Regions from separate parts of the Homo sapiens genome. Here region 2 is linked to region 1. The links are contacts of gene promoters, found by promoter capture Hi-C in human tissues and cell types (Jung and others, 2019). All regions are on one chromosome and are shown on one strand. The core of a region is centred on a gene start or on the middle of the fragment in contact, and the rest is flanking DNA. Distances in the headings are between cores, read along the strand shown.

Region 1 (3,965 bases), core at 1,466-3,965:
TGTGTTGACTCAAGGTTTAATGGATTTAGGGCTGTGCAGGATGTGCTTTGTTAAAAATGTGTTTGAAGACAGTATGCTTGGTAAAAGTCATTGATATTCTCTAATCTCGAGTATCCAGGGACACAATGCACTGTGGAAGGCCACAGGGACCTCTGCCCAGGAAAGCCAGGTATTGTCCAAGGTTTCTCCCCATGTGATAGCCTGAGATATGGCCTCGTGGGAAGGGAAAGACCTGACCGTCCCCCAGCCCATAAAGGGTCTGTGCTGAGGAGGATTAGTGAAAGAGGAAGGCCTCTTTGCAGTTGAGGTAAGAGGAAGGCATCTCTCTCCTGCTTTTCCTTGGGAATGGAATGTCTCAGTGTAAAACTCGATCATACGTTCTATTTACTGAGATAGGAGAAAACCGCCTTATGGCTGGAGGTGAGACATGCTGGCGGCAATATTGCTCTTTACTGCACTAAAATGTTTGTGTAAAGCCAGACATAAATCTGGCCTACGTGCACATTGAGGCATAGCACCTTTCCTTAAACTTATGACACAGAGATCTTTGCTCACGTTTTCCTGCTGACCCTCTCCCCACCATTACTCTATAGTCCTGCCACATCCCCCTCACCGAGATGGTAGAGATAGTGATCAATAAATACTGAGGGAACTCAGAGACCAGTGCTGGCGCGGGTCCTCCGTATGCTGAGCCCTGGTCCTCTGGGCCCACTGTTCTCTACACTTTGTCTCTGTGTCTTACTTTTTTTCTCAGTCTCTCGTCCCACCTGACGAGAAACACCCACAGGTGTGGAGGGGCTGGCCCCCTTCAACAAGTCACCAGGCCACCAAGAAACCTCCTTCAGCTAGGTACATATCTAACACAGGCCCTTGGGGTCAAGAATGTCAAAACTCACCTCAAAAATTTATTTCTATTTCTCTGAGTTTCATTTCACTTTTTTAAACACACTTAAAACAATATTGTATCATCAGCTTTATTGTTGACTGGGAAAACTATGAGGACAGACAGGCTTAAATTATCTGTGCACGCAGAGGGAAAGATAAGGCATATTACCTTGTTGGAACTCTTTTTTTTTTTTTTTGAGATGGAGTCTCGCTCTTTCGCCCAGGCTGGAGTGCAGTGACGCGATCTCTGCTCACTGCAAGCTCTGCCTCCCGGGTTCACGCCATTCTCCTGCCTCAGCCTCCCGAGTAGCTGGGACTACAGGCGCGTGCCACCACGTCCCGCTAATTTTTTGTATTTTTTAGTAGAGAAGGGGTTTCACCATGTTAGCCAGGATGGTCTCTTATCTCCTGACCTCGTGATCCACCCGCCTCGGCCTCCCAAAGTGCTGGGATTACAGGCGTGAGCCACCGCGCCCGCCCCTGGAACTCATTTTTTAAAAAATTTTTTTGAGATGGAGTCTTGCTCTGTCACACAGGCTGGAGTGCAGCGGCGTGATCTCGGCTCACTGCAAGCTCCGCCTCCCGGGTTCACACCATTCTCCTGCCTCAGCCTCCCGACTAGCTGGGACTACAGGCGCCCACCACCACGCCAGGCTGATTTTTTGTATTTTTAGTAGAGACGGGGTTTCACGTGTTAGCCAGGATGGTCTCAATCTCCTGACCTCATGATACGCCCGCCTCGGCCTCCCAAAGTGCTGGGATTACAGGCATGAGCCTCAATTTTATATTTTGCCCTAGACTCTTATTCCTTAAATCTTCCTTAAAATAGTGGTTGCAAAATGGAGGCCCATGGGCTGGATTCAGCCTGTAAAACTGTTTTGTTTGGACTGTAGAGTTAAAAAAAACAAACAAACCCTGTATTTCCAGCATCTCATTAAAAATCGTATGAGGCACCGGACTTATAGTGGTACAAGACAGCAACTGTCTCTAGCTGACAGTTGTTTCCTTTAAAAGCCGTTAAGAGTTCTTTAATTTGCGAACCCTCGCCATTCACGGAATACCTGCTTGTGTTCTTGTATTCAGGGCACTGGAGTGCGTGCCAGCTGGTCTGGAAGCAGCTCCAGCAAGTCACTTACACGGTGGCCAGGGGCGGCCTGACTTTCAATCCGAGACCCGCCGGGAATGACTTTGGGATAATCACAACCTCCGGTCCTCAGTTTCCTTACCTGTGAAATGGGGCTGATAACGCACAGCTGTGGGAAGCACCGGCCCAAACGCAGGGCTTGGGGACACGACCACCATCCCCGCCCACGGGTCCCCGCGCCAGGCTTCGCTCTCCACCCCTCCCGCCGCGGGCCCCAGCGCTTCGCCGAGGTCGGCCCCGGGCGCCAAGAGGCGTGGTCGGCCCGAGCGGACCCTCGCGGCGGCCATGGCGTCGGTGGTGGAATACAAGGGCCTCAGGGCCGGCTACCACTGCGGCTACTGCGATTCCAAGGAGGGCAAAGCGTCCTGCGGTGAGTGTTCCCGACGCCGGAGTTGGCGCGGCCGCCGCGCCCCGCACAGGCCCTCGGCGGGGGAAAGGGCAGGCTCGCACCCCGACTCCCGCTTCCCTTCCCCTCTTGACTCTCCCCATCCTGTTTCCCTTCCCGCTCTGTCTCTCCGCCTCACCCTCACTGACGACGGCGGCCCCTTATGGAGAAGGAACGGAAATAGTGGAAAGCTGCCCTCGGTCAAGATGGCGCGGGCGGCGTCAGCTCCAAGAGGCGCCGGGCCGGCCGGGCCTGCGGGCGCCCGAGTGGCTTCGCGCGAGCCTCGGGAGGCTCCCGGGCGGCGCGCTGCATTGTGGGGTGGCGGCGGCGGCCGCGCTAGCGACGCGGGGCCGGGCGGCTGAGCGTTCGCGGGGCCGAGGCCATGGCTTTCTGGGCGGGGGGTTCGCCCAGCGTCGTGGACTATTTCCCTAGCGAGGACTTCTACCGCTGCGGCTACTGCAAGAACGAGTCGGGCAGCCGCTCCAATGGTGAGCGAGCCGGGCCGGCGGGCGTGGGAAGCCGGGCGCCCGGGTCTCGGGATCCCAGGGTCCCCCAGCGAGGACGCGAGGGGGCCGGAGCCCCTGGCCCCAGTGCCACGGCCGAGACGGAGGGGGCACTCTCGGGAGGGCCGCGGCGCCGGCTTAGCGGGGCAGCTTCGCGGTGCCTGTTCTGCAGGAAAATCCTAACCGGTGCCCGTACTCTCGAAATCGTGGTGGTCTCCCCAGAGTCGGGAGACGGACGCCCGTCTGGGGTAGATTGTGTGAGGTGAAGGACGGCGCGCAGTGCCAGGGAACGCCCCAGAGCCGTAGTTAATGGCCGGGGCTGACCGGTGGGTGCTGCGGTGGGAGCGTCCCGGGAGCGAGGGCGAAACGCGGTGCAGAGGGAGCTGTGGGTGTGCACACAGGTGCCGGTCATGTATGAATCAGACTTCCCTGGACGAATGTACAGGAAGGATGAGCCCTTTGCATCTCTGGGTTAAAAAAAAAAAAAGTTAAAAAAAAAAAGGACAAGAAACTGGTGACCGCGGTCGCTACCGGCGAGGGATTCTGTTTGTCCTGATCTGTTTGAAATTTTTACCATTTGCTTATATGCCGTGTCTTTCCTCCACCCACCCGGACGACAGCAAAGCCAGCCCACAAGTTTGTTTTGTTTTTCCATCGTGATTCAGATTTCTTTGGGGGAGATTTGTTGCTGGTAAACAAAACATCGTGTTTATTTCCTCTCTTGCCATGCATTTGCCAATATAGAATGTAGACTCTATTATTTTAATAGAACAGTCTAGCTTTGTGGAAAACGAGATTCGCATGAAAACACACAGGCATTTTCCATGAAAAAGGTGTAAGTGGGGAATGATTTGGTCGATAACGGTGTGTGCATTTGCTCCTTCATTAAAAGTGTTTATTAAGTGCTACTTGTGGGCAGCGGTTTTGAGTAGACAGTTATGCAATCGTTAGAAGTGAGGATTATGAAGACTAAATGGAAAAATGCTTCCAGTTTGGACTTAAACGGAGAAAATCAACAGGATGCAAATGGCTTATGCGACATGATTAC
Region 2 (7,454 bases), core at 3,966-6,465, 1.0 Mb after region 1:
TAACAAATGACCACAAATGTGCTAGCTTAAAACAATAGAAAACTGTTCTCTAGCAGTTCTGGAGACCAGGTGTCTGAAATCAGGGTTGGTAGGACCAGGCTCTCTCTGCAGGTTCTAGTGGGGGGACCCTCCTTGCCTCTTCTTAGCCTCTGGAGGTGACTGGCAAAACTTGGGATTTCTTGGCTTATGGCAGCACAACTCCAATCTCTGTCCCACATTATCAAATGTCCTTCTTCCCTCTGTGTGAGTCTCTGTGTCCTCTTCTCTTCTTGTGAAGATAGGAGTCATTGCATTTCATCTCAAGATCTTTAACTAATTACATCTGCAGTGACCCTATTTTCATGTAAGGTCGCATTCTGAGGTTCCAGATGGAGGTGAATTTGGAAGGGATACTATTCACTCCACTACAGGAGAGTCAGGTGTTCCAGAGTCCTGATTGTCAGCTCAGGTGGACGCTCATGTCTGTGGCTCAGGGTGTGGGAGGATGGCCCTGGGAAGGTCCATCAGAGGCCGGGCCTGAGGCTCACCAAGCATCGCGATGACTTTATGAAAAGCCACTAGCCGCTCAGTTCTCAAACACAGCATTTCCATTCATAATCCCACTCATGTATACGAGTTAAGCTGCCTCAACCACTGATGGCTTAAAGCCTACTGACTCTAATGAACATAAGGGTCAATCTGATGACCGAAGGCCAAAAGTGCCATTTGCTTGACAGGCCCAGGCCACAAAGGGAGGTTTTCCCAGGAGTATATTCCATGTCATTGGTTCTCCAAGGCACAAGTGCCTCCCTGTGTGTTCAGATGGGAGCTGGGTCTTCACGAACTTTCAGATGAGCCTTTGCCCTCATTCTGGCAGCTGGACAGTGAGGTCAGGCCACTCTGTGTTAGTCGGGACTTGCTTCTCCACTTAACATTCTAATGACCTCAAGTGGTTTCACGTGGTCTAATTCACACCCAGCAAGACTCTCAGCCAGCCTCACTAGGAGTGGCCAACATCCAAGTTGGTCAGGGTAGGAAAGGAAAATGGGAAGGAGGAGATGAGAGTAGGGGTGGGCCAGGAAGCAAATGCAAGGAAACGGAGCAACCTCTCTGGAGCTTTCTTAAATTCTCATCCCCCTGCAAGTGCAGGCAACATCCTGACTGTTTATGGTATCTTAACAGTCACAATGCTTCCGCCTGCAAGCAGTGTTACAGCTTTATTTAAACCTCATTGGTGGTTTATTTAGTTTATTTATTGAATCTGATCTCACCAGGATTCCTGAGTAGATCAAACAGTGGAAGGTGGCCCTGAGCATGACAATCTCTGAGACCAGCGTTGGAATGAGTAGTGGCCACTGTGACCCTGTCCTCATGAAGAATGACCCTGGTGCCATTGTCAGGAGCGAGCACTGTCATTTGCTGGCCTTGTAATTAAAAACAGAGCCACCCCCAAGGTAGCAGGAAAAGAATCCTGGTTCTAAAGCCCAGATGCTGTAGACTGATGTTTTGGTTTTCAGCCAACATGTTCAGTTTCATTTCCCCTAAAGCATCTGCTATTCGTTCAAGAGAAAAATAAGGACAGAAGAAGCAGCAATGGCTTTCTTTGGTAGTTTTTGTATGAAAGGAAAGCACCCCAAACCAAAATGGTATAACTTGGTCCAGTGTTGCAAATAGATTTACTTGGAATGTCCAAAGTCCACGGCGCAAAAAAGTTTAAAAATGTTTTGAAAACTGCATTCTTTCCAACAGAGCATGGCTAAGAAGACAATCCTTTAATTCTGGCCCCTGCTGGTTTCTGGGCCTTCCTGTCTCATTTGCTGACCGAACTCAGCTTCCCCCTCCTGCAGGAAGAGAGCACTTGTGATTCCAGCATCACTGGGGATCAGATCCTTCTAAATTCTCCCTCCTCTGGAAAGCTGGTTAGAGTGGAAGTGGCTCAGACCAGGATGTCAGGCAGGGCTTTGACTTGCATCCCAAATTTGTCACTTAATTGCAGCACAACCAACTGTCCCAGTTTGCCAAGGACTGTCCTAGTTGAAAGTCTGGTGTCCTAGGAAACTCCTCCTTTTGGGGCAATCCAGAATGGTTGGTCATCCTGGTTTTCTCAACCTCTCTGAGCCTAGTTCACTCCTCTGTGAAGTGGGGTGATCGTGGCTACCCTGAAGCTCTGAGGATCATATGGCGCATGGTTTGGCAAGGGTGACTCAATGGAAGCTTCACTCCCTGAGAGTCTGAGGTTAGGGGGATGCCCAGCAGGACACCCACTCATGGGTGCTCTCCCATCCGGGTCACTTGGATGTTTTCCATCTGTGATGTATTTTGACCTGGCCCAATATCCTTTCCATCCCCCTGTCCCTCACCTACTCTCTAGCTGCTTCCAGTGGGGCACCTGTGTACATCCCCAGGAGAGAGACAGGCAGGGCACTGCCAGGAAACTGGGTCTGTGGACTGGGGGATGAAGCATCTCTGGGGACTAGGAGTGCCTCCAGATGTCCTCAGGGCCATCTCCAGCAAGAGGCAACAGGTTCCTGGTCCCAGGGTCCTGGGGAGTTCCACCTGGGACACTGCTTCTTTACCAGGTCCCAAGGCTTGAAAGCAGATGGTGAGTGAAGTTAAGAGACACCCCTTCATTATTGGCAGCCACATAGGTTCCAGCAGAAGGAGAAGAGGGTGATGAGCTACACAACCATTCACGTCCAAAGTCTCAGTGAATGAACCTCAGTGAATCAGAAAATGAGGCCAGGAGGCCATAATCTAAAGGGAGGATAGTTTGGATTGAGGACCTGAGCTTTCAGCACAAGAACTTACCACAGTGGATGGGCAGAGTAGCTCCCAGTGTCCTGGTCGTTCCCTGGCCTTTTCCTCCTGGTGCCATGGCTGTGCCTTTGGGACATGGCTGCCTGGTATAAGTCCAAAGGGCTGATGTCCAGGCTGGGTGCGCAGACCTGTATGTGCTTGATGGAGAATCTAGAAAAGACTGCGCTGCTGAATGTCCCAAGTCATCACAATTTAGAAAAGAATAGCATCAAACCCTTGCATAGCACTATGCGCCACACACTGATATGAGTGTTATCACTCAGCAACCCTATGGGATAAGTACAGTGTATGATCCCCCATTTTGCAGGTGAGTAAACTGAGGCACAGAGGAATGTGGCATGTTGCCTACTTGTACATAGCTCATAAATGGTGGAGCTGGGGTTCTAATCCAGGAGGCCTAATTCAGAATCCAGAGTTTCAATGCCTACACTAGACAACCAGTCTGATGTGGGGGATCTCTGGAGTCATCTTACTGTTACCTAAAGCACATTCTGGTGATGGAAGTTAAGAGTAATACAAGGGACAGCCTGGGAGGTAGTGAGCAGCCCATCATTGGAGGTGTGTAAGCAGAGACAGGATGCCACTTGGAAGGGACCATGGCAAAGCTGAGTCCTCTTACCCTGGGAATCCTAAGAAACAAAAAAGAAGGAAAGTTGTGGTTGCACGAATTATTCAGAAGCTTTTAAAGGCTCAGAAATCTCATTAGTGTGTTTCTGTTCTCAGGGTTGCTTTTGTTTTGGTTTGGTTTGATTTGGCTTACGTGTTTTTGTTGTTTTCTTCCCCATGAAACTTCTAGGCTTGGAAAAAAATTGTCTGATGGTCTCTCAGCTTCGTATATAGAAAAGATTTAGTTTCACTCTGGGAAAAGACATTAAATCCTTTAGCGTCAGCCAAGGTCAGATCAGTTGAAAGGGAGCCCTGAGGCTGTGCTCTGGAAAGAAACCATCTGTCTCCATGGTTGAGGTACTAGCCTCCTACAAGGCTTAGACCCCTGGATCCTCCCTGGTACTGCAGTGCTGGGCCTTCCAGAAATCCTATTGAGAGAGTGGCATCGTTGCTCTGTTGCCTGCTTAGAAAGGCTTTCTAGGCCGGGTGCGGTGGCTCACGACTGTAATCCCAGCACTTTGGGAGGCCGAGGTGGGCGGATGACGAAGTCAGGAGATCGAGACCATCCTGGTTAACACGATGAAAACCCGTCTCTACTAAAAATACAAAAAATTAGCTGGGTGTGGTGGCGGGCACCTGTAGTCCCAACTACTCGGGAGGCTGAGGCAGGAGAATGGAGTGAACCCAGGAGGCGGAGCTTGCAGTGAGCGGAGATCGCGCCACTGCACTCCAGCCTGGGTGACAGAGTGAGACTCCGTCTCAAAAAAAAAAAAAAAAAAAAAAAAAAAAAAAAAAAAAAAGAGAGAAAACAAAGGCTTTCTGTAGCACACCCAGCAAGTTCCTGTGCTTCTCGAGCAACTGTGCCCACTCCTAATCCAGCATGGATTCCATGGGGCATTCACAGCATGAACGGAAGGGAGGGAGAGAGGGAGGGAGAAGGGAAGGGAGGGAGGGAAAGCAAAGAGGGGAGAAGGAAATTCCTCAGCAAATGAGTTTAGCTAGTATTGGCTGAAACACATTTAAGCAGGTGTCTTTATGGTAGGACTTCTCAGAGCCTTTGAAGTGCAAGCGTGCACTGGGAATCTCTGAGGGGAGACATTGAATGCCCTGTTTTCCCAGCTCATTTGGTTCCTATCCCATTTGTTTTTTCTCAGGAATATCTTGTGGGACTAGTGTTTCACGGCATTTTCTTTTGAAATGCTGGGAAAATAATATGTTAACCTTAAACTGTCACCTCTGGATTCTGATCTTCCTTCTGCACAGATACTCACTCCCACAAACACTGAGCCCTTATTGTGAGCCTACCAGGGGCTGAATAGGGATCTAGGGAGATCTCAGAAGGGACCTGTTTCTCCCATTGGTTTACTGAGCTCCATTCGGCCAAGAGGTAGGGCTTTTACAGCACAAATAGTGACAGGCAACATTTTTCTGCCAAGCTGTATTCTAAGAGCTTTATGACTGCAAGAGGGAAGCACTGTCATTAAGCCAATTTTGCAGATGGGGAAACTGAGGCATGGCAATGGCAGAGCTGGGAATCACCTCTGGGGGTCTGGCTCCAGGGCCTAGCTCTTCACTGCCTGGGGAGCCACAGCTCAGGCACTCACAGGGCTGCCGAGGGGACACGCGTGGGCAGAGTGAGCAGACCAGGTAGTGGGTGAAGGACTCAGTTCATCCCTCTATTCTATACCCCACCCCAAACACACATACGTTCTAGAAACAGAAATACCAGCTTTTCAAGACAGAGATTGCTGCTCGGTTTCATACCTGCCTACAGATTTGAGAAAAGAAAACACAAAACAATGACACATCATTTTTCTTCCTTGAAAGTACTTTTTTCTGTATTCATCGCTTCAATAAATGTTGTCAGACTAATTAAACACTGCAGTTATTAAGTTTTCTGAGAATTGCACTTAAATCGAACACCGTGTGCGTTTGCTAAAGGAAATGGAATCTGATGAGAAGAGGGGAGAGGACTAGTCCTGTTATATGTGCCGGGAAAAAAAAAAACTTTTTTGAAATGTAATTAGCCTACACCTGTTGGTCACCTTTCTAGAACACCGCAGACAGTCAGGGCACTTGTCATGGCAGAGTCAGGTGGGAAGGCCTCTGGTGCCCGGGGGCTGAGGACTCAGGCTGGTGCTGGCTGGTCTCACCTGGTTCCGCTGAGCCCTCCAGAGGCCCCAGCTCTCAGCACAGATGCAGACAGACCCTTCCTGGGCCAGACCAGTGTGACCCTATCAGTGACCCTTTTGGGGACCTAAATGTGTGGCTGCTCACATCATCATGTGGGCTGAGGCTGTTTCAATCTTGATTCAACATTCAGTTCCCCTCTCTGGCTTTTCCCCCAAACCGAATCACATTAAGCATTTGGTGGATTTCAGAATTTCACTAAGGCTTTGTAAAGTCCCGAGGAGAGGCCTATGTCACAGTTTATGGCATTCCTGAGAAAGGTCCCCATTACCTGTGCATCTCCTTCCAAGGCAGCTCAGTGTCATCACAGCAACCGTGCTGATTGCCGACAGAGCAGGGCAAGCACCAAGCTCTGACAACACCCTGGAGGCTGTGGGCAGCTCCTCTCCAGTCTCCCACCCCAGCAGGCTGAGACGGTTCTAAACGAGCCCTGCAATCTGGAAACGGTGCTGCAGAACCACTTCCCTGCTGTAGCTGCTGCAGGACTCCCCTCAGTTCCGATCTTTTCTTTCCCCTCCCTGAGTTTCCCTCTGCCTGCCATGGCTTTGCCACCTTCTTGAGCTCCTGGGGCTCTTCGGACCACACTGAGGCTGGTTCCTCTGCAGGAGGGACCCTGGCTGGATCCCCTCGCTGAGCTCACACCGGGCCCTCAAGTGGCATGTGCCCTCCCGCCTGCTCACTTCTGCCCCACTGTCCATACTGCCTGCAGGGGTCTCCTCTCCTGCTGCCAGCCTCTGGCCGGCCCCCTACCTGCAGGGCTGCTCCCTGGCCCCCTTCACTTACCTACATCTCCTCCCACCTCCCCAGAACTGCTGCCCTCCCCACTCAGTTTCCATCCAAGCCCCAACTCTGGTATTCCCAATGACCCCAGCTGGCTGCTCTCCACTGCAACCCTGCATCCCCCGACAGGGGTGGTGAGTCCCTGGAAGAAGGTGGTGGCTCAATAAGTACTTGGAGCTTGGTGGTTCCCATGGATGGGATGGGGCTGGGGGTCCGGTCCGGGGGTGCAGGGATCAGGGGCATAAGGCAGCAAAAGGACTGGAGAGACTTTGTTTCCCAGGCAGGAGGAGACCTGCAGAGGGTGAGATTCTCAGGGGAGGAACTGCCAGAAGCCTAAGAGCCTTTTTCCAGAGCTGCCTCCAGGAGAGAAGGTGATCTACCTGGCTCCGGATCAAGTCCTTTCTGCTCAGAACAAGCTTTCTGCACTTGTAGGGTGGGTGATTTTAGAGATTTGGAGAGTCAATCTTTGCTTCTTTCCTTTTTTCTCTCTCTCCTTCCCAGTCCCACCCACTCTAATCCCAGCTCCTGTTTGTCCAAGCCCCTCAAGCAAGACTCTCTTTAGTGAGTGAAAGCTGACAATGTGAGTCTCAGCCTCCTTCCCAGGAGCAGCTAAGCTGACAGATCCTTGATCTTGAGAAGCCCTCGCAGCTCCCTTCTCTGACTCTCAGCCACCCCTGGAGGGAGACCCTATTATCGGGAGACCCTATTATCACCATTTTACAAGTGAGGCTCAGGTGATAACTTGTCCAAGGCCAGGCAGCCAGATTGCCGGGAAGCAGGTGTTCCCAGCGCCGCTGCTTTCACCCTGTTCCACATCTCTGGTCCTTGTGTTTAGAACCATTCTTGAGTGGGTTTGCCAAAGGCAAAAAGCAAAACCAAGGCTTGGCTGACAGTTACTGAGGCCCTCTGAAATGTGCATTGGCAATTCCAGAAACACAAGCTCAGATCAGATCCTTAGCATTTAAATGAACTTATGTCAGGTTTGCTACAATATGATCTGCTGGAACAGCTTTCTAACTCCTTAACGGGATGAGGTATATTTTCCTTGGCCTATTCTAGGCAAAGATCAGCAACTTCAAACA

The links. The method cuts DNA at HindIII sites, captures the fragments that hold promoters and counts their contacts. A contact is called where the count stands out against the background at its distance.
Region 2: a fragment that was not itself captured here is called in contact with the fragment with the promoter of ATE1 in region 1 in 1 of the 25 tissues and cell types used here (dorsolateral prefrontal cortex).

The regions. Positions count from the first base shown.
Region 1 is chr10:121,926,781-121,930,745 of GRCh38, reverse strand. It overlaps ATE1 (arginyltransferase 1), which reads left to right and starts at 2,715. Exons shown (of 12, transcript NM_001001976.3): 1 at 2,715-2,902. The coding sequence starts at 2,797. It also overlaps the pseudogene ATE1OSP. RefSeq lists silencers at 18-312, 2,134-2,433, 2,624-3,043 and enhancers at 1,949-2,815, 3,354-3,503. The HindIII fragment of the contact is 7,909 bases long and covers 1-3,965 here.
Region 2 is chr10:120,925,639-120,933,092 of GRCh38, reverse strand. The region is part of intron 2 of LOC105378519 (a long non-coding RNA gene); the gene reads left to right. Among named protein-coding and RNA genes, the nearest start is that of WDR11, 78 kb to the right of the region's middle. The HindIII fragment of the contact is 4,762 bases long and covers 2,835-7,454 here.